Linked DNA regions of Homo sapiens: region 1 is linked to region 2. Evidence: promoter capture Hi-C in human tissues and cell types (Jung and others, 2019). All regions are on one chromosome and are shown on one strand. The core of a region is centred on a gene start or on the middle of the fragment in contact, and the rest is flanking DNA. Distances in the headings are between cores, read along the strand shown.

What was found. The method cuts DNA at HindIII sites, captures the fragments that hold promoters and counts their contacts. A contact is called where the count stands out against the background at its distance.
Region 1: a fragment that was not itself captured here is called in contact with the fragment with the promoter of OXTR in region 2 in 3 of the 25 tissues and cell types used here (IMR-90 fibroblasts, aorta and mesenchymal stem cells).

The regions. Positions count from the first base shown.
Region 1 is chr3:8,822,858-8,826,565 of GRCh38, forward strand. LOC107986061 (a long non-coding RNA gene) reads right to left here and starts at 3,661. Exons shown (of 2, transcript XR_001740592.2): 1 at 1,412-3,661; 2 at 1-1,375. The HindIII fragment of the contact is 6,649 bases long and covers 1-3,708 here.
Region 2 is chr3:8,768,363-8,772,349 of GRCh38, forward strand. OXTR (oxytocin receptor) reads right to left here and starts at 1,251. Exons shown (of 4, transcript NM_000916.4): 1 at 869-1,251; 2 at 134-229. RefSeq lists enhancers at 47-718, 1,366-1,415. The HindIII fragment of the contact is 11,538 bases long and covers 1-3,987 here.

The DNA of each region.
Region 1 (3,708 bases), core at 319-2,818, 55 kb after region 2:
ATTAGAAATTGGACTATTCCAAATGCGGTTGGAAGAAAACTCCTATGATAACCCCAATTAATGCAGTAAGAGCATTTAATAAAATTCGACTTACTTTCATGTTAAAAACAAAAACACTTAACCTAGAAATAGTAGGGGGCATTTGATTAACGTGATAAAGTGCTTCTACAAGAAGTTACAGAGGGCATTATAATTAATGTTGAAATATTGAAAGCATTCCCCTGAAAATCAGGAGCCTGAAAGTTAAGGATGTATGCTAATATCAACTTCTATTCTACACTTAACTAGAAGTCCTAAATGGTACAGAAGATTAAAAAGTAAAGATATATGGATTGTAAAGGAAGAAACAACACTATCATTATTTGCAGATAATACGTCTGTCTGCAAAGAAAACTCCAAAGAACTCTCAGGTAAATCATTAGAATTACTAAGATAATTTAGTAAGGTTGCTCAGTCCAAAATAGACAAAAATAATTTCATTTTTATATACAAGCATCAGGCAAAAAGTGACTTTTTTATTTAAAAAAAAAAGATATTTACCATAGCAACAAAAATAGGTACCTAGAAAAAAAATAACAAAAAAAGGAAGCTCTTTATAGAGAGTATGATAAAACCTTATTAAGAAATATATTAAATAAGACCTAAGTATGTGGAGACATAAACCCTATCCGTGGAAGGAATTGTAAATATGTCAGCTCTCTTCCAATTGATCTAGAGACTCATTGCAACTCCCGTCACAATTCCAACAGAGTTCTTCATGAATACTGGCAAGCTGATTCTGAAATATAAATGGAAGAACAAAAGGCAGGGAATGGCCAAGACATTCCTGAAGAGGAAAAACAAGGTGATGATTCTTGCCCTCTCAAATATGAAAATATATTTAAAGCTTTAATACTTAAAGCAGCGTGGAGTGCTGCAAATAGATCAGTGGCACAGTATGGAGAGAGATCTTGTACCTACCCATGCATTTATGGAAAATAGATTTATAACCATGCAGGTGTGCTTGATGGTTTATTTGTTCACCCAGATGCAGTCTCCAACCTGCTCCACTCAGTTCTGTACTCCAGAGCAGACCTCTGTGGCCTGCATTGGTGGGTTCCCTGCCCTCTGGCTTCCAGCTGGGTTATGGTGGATTTACCACCAAATCTACAGGAGGGACAGCATGAGGTTGAGCAGACAGGTGTTTAGTCCTCTGGCCAACTCTGTCTCTCCTGGGTCAAGGTGATTGGTATGTTTCTCTGTGGAAGTCTCCCCTTCTATTTGGAGGTCTTCCTCCACTCCTCCCTCTGGGTCCAGTAACTCCTGCCTTTCCTTGACTCTCAAGGTTAGAAGTGGTAAGGGTTTCAGCTCTTGCCAGTTGAAACTGCTTCATCACCTATTAGTGATGCTTCACTAATAGGTGCTTCATCACCTATTAGTTTCCCTTACCTCAGCCTCTCCTTTGTAAATACTGCCTTTTTTAAACTCTCTTTAATGTTAATGTTTGAGTGTGCCTTCTGTTTCTCGCCAGTACCCTGATTGATACAGGCAGTCCTGCAGATTGGTGAGGAAAAGAAGGCTCATTCAGTAAACTGTGCTAGGAAAACTGATGACTCATGAGGGAAGAAAATTATAAACACAAAAATCAGTTCCTCAGACCTCAGTATAAGAAAATATACTAAGATAAGAAAGTATGAGAAAGGATTTTATAAACAAGATATATAAATACACCAACTGTAAAGGAACAGGTTAATAATATTCAATACATTAAAATTAAGGACTTCTGTTCATCAAAAGCAACTTGAAAGGAGTGAAAAGACAGTTCACAAACTTGGAGAAGACATTTGCAAAACTTAAAGCCAACAAATAATTGTTACTTAGACCTCTGCTGTCCAAGATGGCAGCTATTAGATATATGGCTATTAAAACTAAAAATAGACTGGGCACAGTGGCTCACGCCTGTAATACCAGCACTTTGGGAGGCCAAGGTGGGTGGATCACCTGAGGTCAGGATTTTGAGACCAGCCTCACCAACATGGTGAAACCCCATATCTACCAAAAATAAAAAAATTAGCTGGGTGTCGTGGTACATGCCTCTGTAATCCAGCTTCTTGGGAGGCTGAGGCAGGTGAATCACTTGAACCTGAGAGACAGAAGTTGCAGTGAGCCAAGATCGCGCCACTACACTCCAGCCTGGGCAACAAGAGCAAAACTCCATCTCAAAATAAATACATAAATAAATAAACACACTAAAAATAATATTGAAAATTTAGTTCCTCTGCTGCACTAGTTTCAAATGCTCAGTAGCATGTGGCTAGTGGCTACCATATTGGACAGTGCAGACAGAGAACATTTCTATCATCACAGAAAGTTCTGTTGAGAAGCCCTTATCTAGAATATAGAACAGCTCCTAGAAATCACTAAGAAAAAAAGCAAATAGCCCACAATGGTTAATTTTATGTATCAACTTGACTGCACCATGGGGTGCCCAGACCAAACACTGCTTCTGAGTGTGTCTGTGAGGGTTTTCCAAGATAAGATTAGTATTTGAATCAGTGGACCCAGTAAAGTAGATTGCCTCCTCAATGTTGGTGGGCATCATTCAACCCATTGAGAGCCTAGATAAACAAAAAAGGCAGAGGAAGGAGGAATTTTTGCTTAATGTCTTTGACTGAGCTGAGACAACTGCCTTCTCCTGCCCATAGACTAGTATAAAACTATCAGCTCTCCTAGTACTCAGGCCTTTGGACTCAGAATGGAATTACACCACCAGCTTTCCTGGGTCTTCAGCTTGTGGACAGCAGATCATGGGACATTTCAGTCTCTGTAAACATGTGAGCCAATTCCTCACAATAAATCTCTCCCTATGTATCTCCTATTTGTTCTGTTTCTCTGGAGAACCCTGACTAATACATAGCCCGGTCAAAAAAAAATGAGCAAGATAAAAGAACAAGTATTTCAGAGAAAAGTAAAGGCTTTTGGTCCCATACGAAGAAATATGCAACCTCAACCCTCAACAGACATCAGAGATATACACAACGTAAATTATTTCATGCTCACCATTTTGGCAAAGTCAATACCAAGTGATAGCAATATTATAGCACAATAGAAAGTCACACACTGCTTTGAGATTGTAAATTGGTACAATCACTTTGGAAAAGAGTTTGTATGACTAAGTAAAATTGAAGATATGTATATCCTATAACCCTTCTTGCACACCAAGAAATGTGTAGAAGAACATTCACTACTATATTGTTTATATTATATGTATCTATAGTTTATAATACATGAAAACCAGAAAAAATACAAATGTCCATCTACAGTAAAATGGAAAAATACACTGAATATCAGTGGAAAACTATGGAGCAGGGAAAATAAACATCATCTTGGATAAACTTAAAAAACATAACCTTGAGCAAAAAAAATGGAGACACAAAAGCATACACTTAGAAGATGTCATTTATGTACTGCTCCAAAACAGACAAAACTAAACAATATAATTGGGAATAAAGTACAGGTTCTAAAACTGTAAAGAAGAGCAAGGAAAGCTGAACACAAAAATGAAGCTAAAAGTTAGTGATGGCAGAGAGAGAAAAATGTAATCAGAGCGGGACACATAGAGGTTTCTTCTTAGAAGAAGTGATAATTTTCTTTCTTAAATAAAAACAATTTTGAAATGATAATAACAAAATTTTAAATGTTTTATTTTTTTTTTAAATTTTTTTTATT
Region 2 (3,987 bases), core at 1-2,500:
CCGCGTTTCTCTTCCGACGCGGGTAGGGCGTGCTTGTCCCATTCCCAGGAACCCAACTCATCTGAAACAACAGGGCACAACCGCCGGCCTCGGGTTGCTCAGCCGCCACCCCAGAAATCCCCGTTGGAGGTACCTCCTCTGAGCCACTGCAAATGAGCGGGAATCCTCTACCGGCCACAAGCCCAGAGCCCCCAGCGTGCCAGTTCCTCGGGATGTTCAGCGGCTTCCACTGGGGGAGAAGGGAGGGTCAAAATCAGCAACGTTCCTCCGGGAGTGGGAATCTAAAACCAAATCACCTCCCCGAGGGAATCTCCAAACTACCTACTCGCCCCAGGCTCCGACCCTCAGCATATCCACCTGCCGCGGGACCCCCAAACCAGCCCCTCTCCTAGTAAACATTAATTCAAGTACTTCCTCCGGAAATCCCCAAATAGCCACTTGCCTGGGAAACCCCAGCTCTGGTCCTTCCCCGTCTAACCCCCTTTTCTAAGACGGTCGGCCGTCACTCCCTGAACTTCCACAGCACCTGCTTCGGTGGAAACCCGGTTCTGCAGTCCCTGCTGGGGGAACCCCTGCCTCAAAGCCCAAGATGCCCAAGCGCTGTTCCCAGACCCTGGCATAGACACCTCCCGCGGGGCTCCTCCCCAGCCCGGCAGCCTCGAAAGTTCTGGAACCCCTGACTTGCGCTTTGGACCCAGATAATCAAGGACTCTGAGTCTCAATCCCGAGAAGTCACTTTACAATCTCTCGGAACACCCCGAGCTCCTCCAGGAACAAGGAGTGCGAGGCACCCCACCACCTCCACTCGGGTCCCGATGGCTCCACCGGCCCTAGCCATCCCGTCCACCCCTGCTTAGCACCCAGCTACCTGCACCGAGTCCGCAGGCGAACCTAAAGTTGACTCCCCCCGGGGAAGTTGCACGGCGACTGACGGCCCCAGTGACGCGTGCGCTCCCGGCCCGAGTTGGGATGGCCTGCCGGCTGCACCTAATGTGATGCTAAGCTGAGGTCTCTCACTGGAGCCTCGGTTGGAATCCCCTCGCCGCAGCCTGGCTGGTCGCTGGATGGGTACAGGAGGCGAGCGAGGAGCGCCTCCCAGGCTGCGCGCGCGGACAGCGTCTGGATGCGGCGCTGTGCGCTGGGGCTGAGGCTGCACTATCGCACGGGTCCGCTAGGGGGCGGGCGAGGCCAGCCGCGCAGACCCCTCCGGAGCGGAGCTGGTTCGCCCAGCGTTGGTCCCAGAGCCTTAACAAATGGGTTTATTTTGCAGTGGTTTAAAACTGCGAGAGGGAGGGAACTCGTCAATAACCCGCCCGTTTCTTCCTTTCTTGGTTTAGAAGCTCTTGACTCCGAGACACATAGGAGGCTTGAATAATAATGTTCTTCCCCGGGTAGATAGTGATGAAGTTACAAAAGCATTTAAACTGATTATTTCCCAAAAATGATGTTAATTTTCAGGCTTTTCTCTCCCCCCACACCTCCAGCTTGATGTAGCGGCTTTAGCAGTGAACTCAAATAAGTCTTTGCTTTGGAATACTTTTGTTCCTATTCCCGTTAATGAGGAATTAGAAATGGCCTCTATTCTAAGCAGTGCTGGGAGAGGCGTTATTTTTTCGGTAGTTTTAGAGGAAATTCTGAAGCACAACACTGTCTTCATTTAAAGTGATTCTGCTTGTCTGCGCCCAAGAGCCGTTTCTGCCTCCTTGTCGCGCTTCGGAATTAAAATTCTAAATGATGCCAAAGGAAGATAAAATGTTAAAGACAGCTTCTCAGCCTCCCTGCCCCTTCTCTATTCTAAAATCATTTTTTGAAGTAATTTACAGTGGCCAAGAATTAAGTCAGAAAAAAAGGCCAGGATTCAAAAATAAACAGGGCTCTTTAAAATGCATTAAATGTGTATTTCCTCCTGACATTTCACTTCTCCGTCTTTTTATTATGTGGAGAGACTTGAGTTAGCCAAGGACTGGGTTTCCTTAATCCACAATTACAGCCCCATGCCGAGATATCCCAGGGGCCAACCTTACAGCACCTGGATCCCAGGGTTCTAGCTGAGTAATCATTCCAGAATGGGGCTGGGAATCTTGACAGCATTGCCAAGGGGTGGCAGGCAGTATTAATCAATATTAGTCAATAGTACCTATCGGCCTCGAAAATTACAGATTAAAGTTACAGACGACTCAGGTGAGAATGAAGTGACCTTGGGCAAGCCCCTTCTCTTTGGGCCTCAGTCTCCTCATATGTAAAATGAGAGCACTGGTCAAGATAGCTAATGTCTGAGGTCCTGTCCCTCTGGTTTTCTGAAACTGTATAATCTGTGCAATCTGAGGGTTCAATCCTAGCAGGTAAAACACCCCTGCCTCACTCCACGGCTGGATGAAGGCAGATTTTTCCCTATGAGCCCCTGACCGGTGAATGTGAGAAGGAAAACACTGGCCTGTAGAACCAAGCCTGCCCTTCTTTCTCCTGGAAGACAGCTGCTTTCTAGGGAGCAAGTTTACTGAGCCACTTCACCAAGGACAGACTCTTCTACCCTTTGTAGGGAAGCCTGCCTACCTGTGTGGTCCTCGCGTAGCCCGTGAGACAGCCTAATTCTGGATTCACCTAACAGGGCTATTTAGTCTCATGCAAAAGGTAAATTCTCTAACTTAGTTTTAATCTAAACAACAACAATAACAACAACAGTAATAGTGTGATCCCCATTTCCTGTCTTTTGTTTTATTTCTCATTGTGTGCAGAAACCAGGCAGGAAATAGAGAGGTCCCCTTGAAAACTCCTAACAATGAATAAGACATGCTCCTTCACCTTTGAGCTTCGGCCAGGGAGAAAAACACATATTAGATTGGTGCAAAAGTAATTGTGGTTTTTGCTATTAAAAATAATGGCAAAAACTGCAATTACTTTTGCATCAACCTAATATTTGCAGTGTGACAACAATAAATGATGTTACAGAAGTGAGGACTGCTGGGGGCTGAGGTAATACTTGGGAGATCGTTTTACAAAGAGGTAGCTGGATTTCAGAGCTCCAGAATGAGTTCTCCAGGAAGCAAAGAAAAAAGGCATACTTCTCAGAGAGTGGTGCAGGGGAATCACTTTGGCGTTTTGGAGGAAGGACTAAAGATGAATTGCTTGGTGCCTAGCACATTGCCAGCACTTAATACATACAGTTGGCCCTCTATATCCCTGTATCTGTGAGTTCAGTGGATTCAAACAATCATGGATTGAAAATATTCAGGAAAAAAAATCCTCAAAGTTCCAAAAAGCAAAAATTGAATTTGTCATGTGCCACCTACAACACTGAATGCACACAAATGCAGTGACGAGTGACATTGCATTAGGTGTTACAAGTAATCTTGAGATGACTTAAAGTATGTGAGAGGATATGCACGTGTTATATGCAAATACTGCTTCATTTTATATCAGGGATTTGTGTACCTTGAAGGCTCCCGGAACCAATCCCCCATGGATACCAAGAGATAACTGTACTTATTGATGCTAAAGGAACTTCAAGGCCATGTAAAGGAGAATGGGTTTTATTCTGTAACCCAACATTCCCCAAAATATGGGATGGAATACTTTCTGATAGTGTTAAATGTGAATTTAATATTGAGTGATACTGAATAACAGGGAGGAAATTCAGTTCTCAGTTCTGCTTACTTTTGACGTCAGCAAAGAGAAAGTCTGATATAACAAAAATCATGAAGGTGCTAGTGTAAAGATGACTGAGGTTAGAAGGCATTGGTGGGGAAGGTGGGGTGCCTGGAAGGACTGCAAGCAAAACAACGTACTCAAATCTGTGCTTGGTGAGAGAATGCTGGTAGCCACAGGGAAGATGGGAAAGGAGATACTGGCATTATGAAGGCCTTGGAGATCCAGGCAAGAGATGCTGTAGGCATGGACAAAAGATGTGACATTACAGGGTGTCTTTCGGTCTTCCAAAGAAACAGAACCATTGGGATGTATATATGTAGAGAAAGAGATTCATTTAAG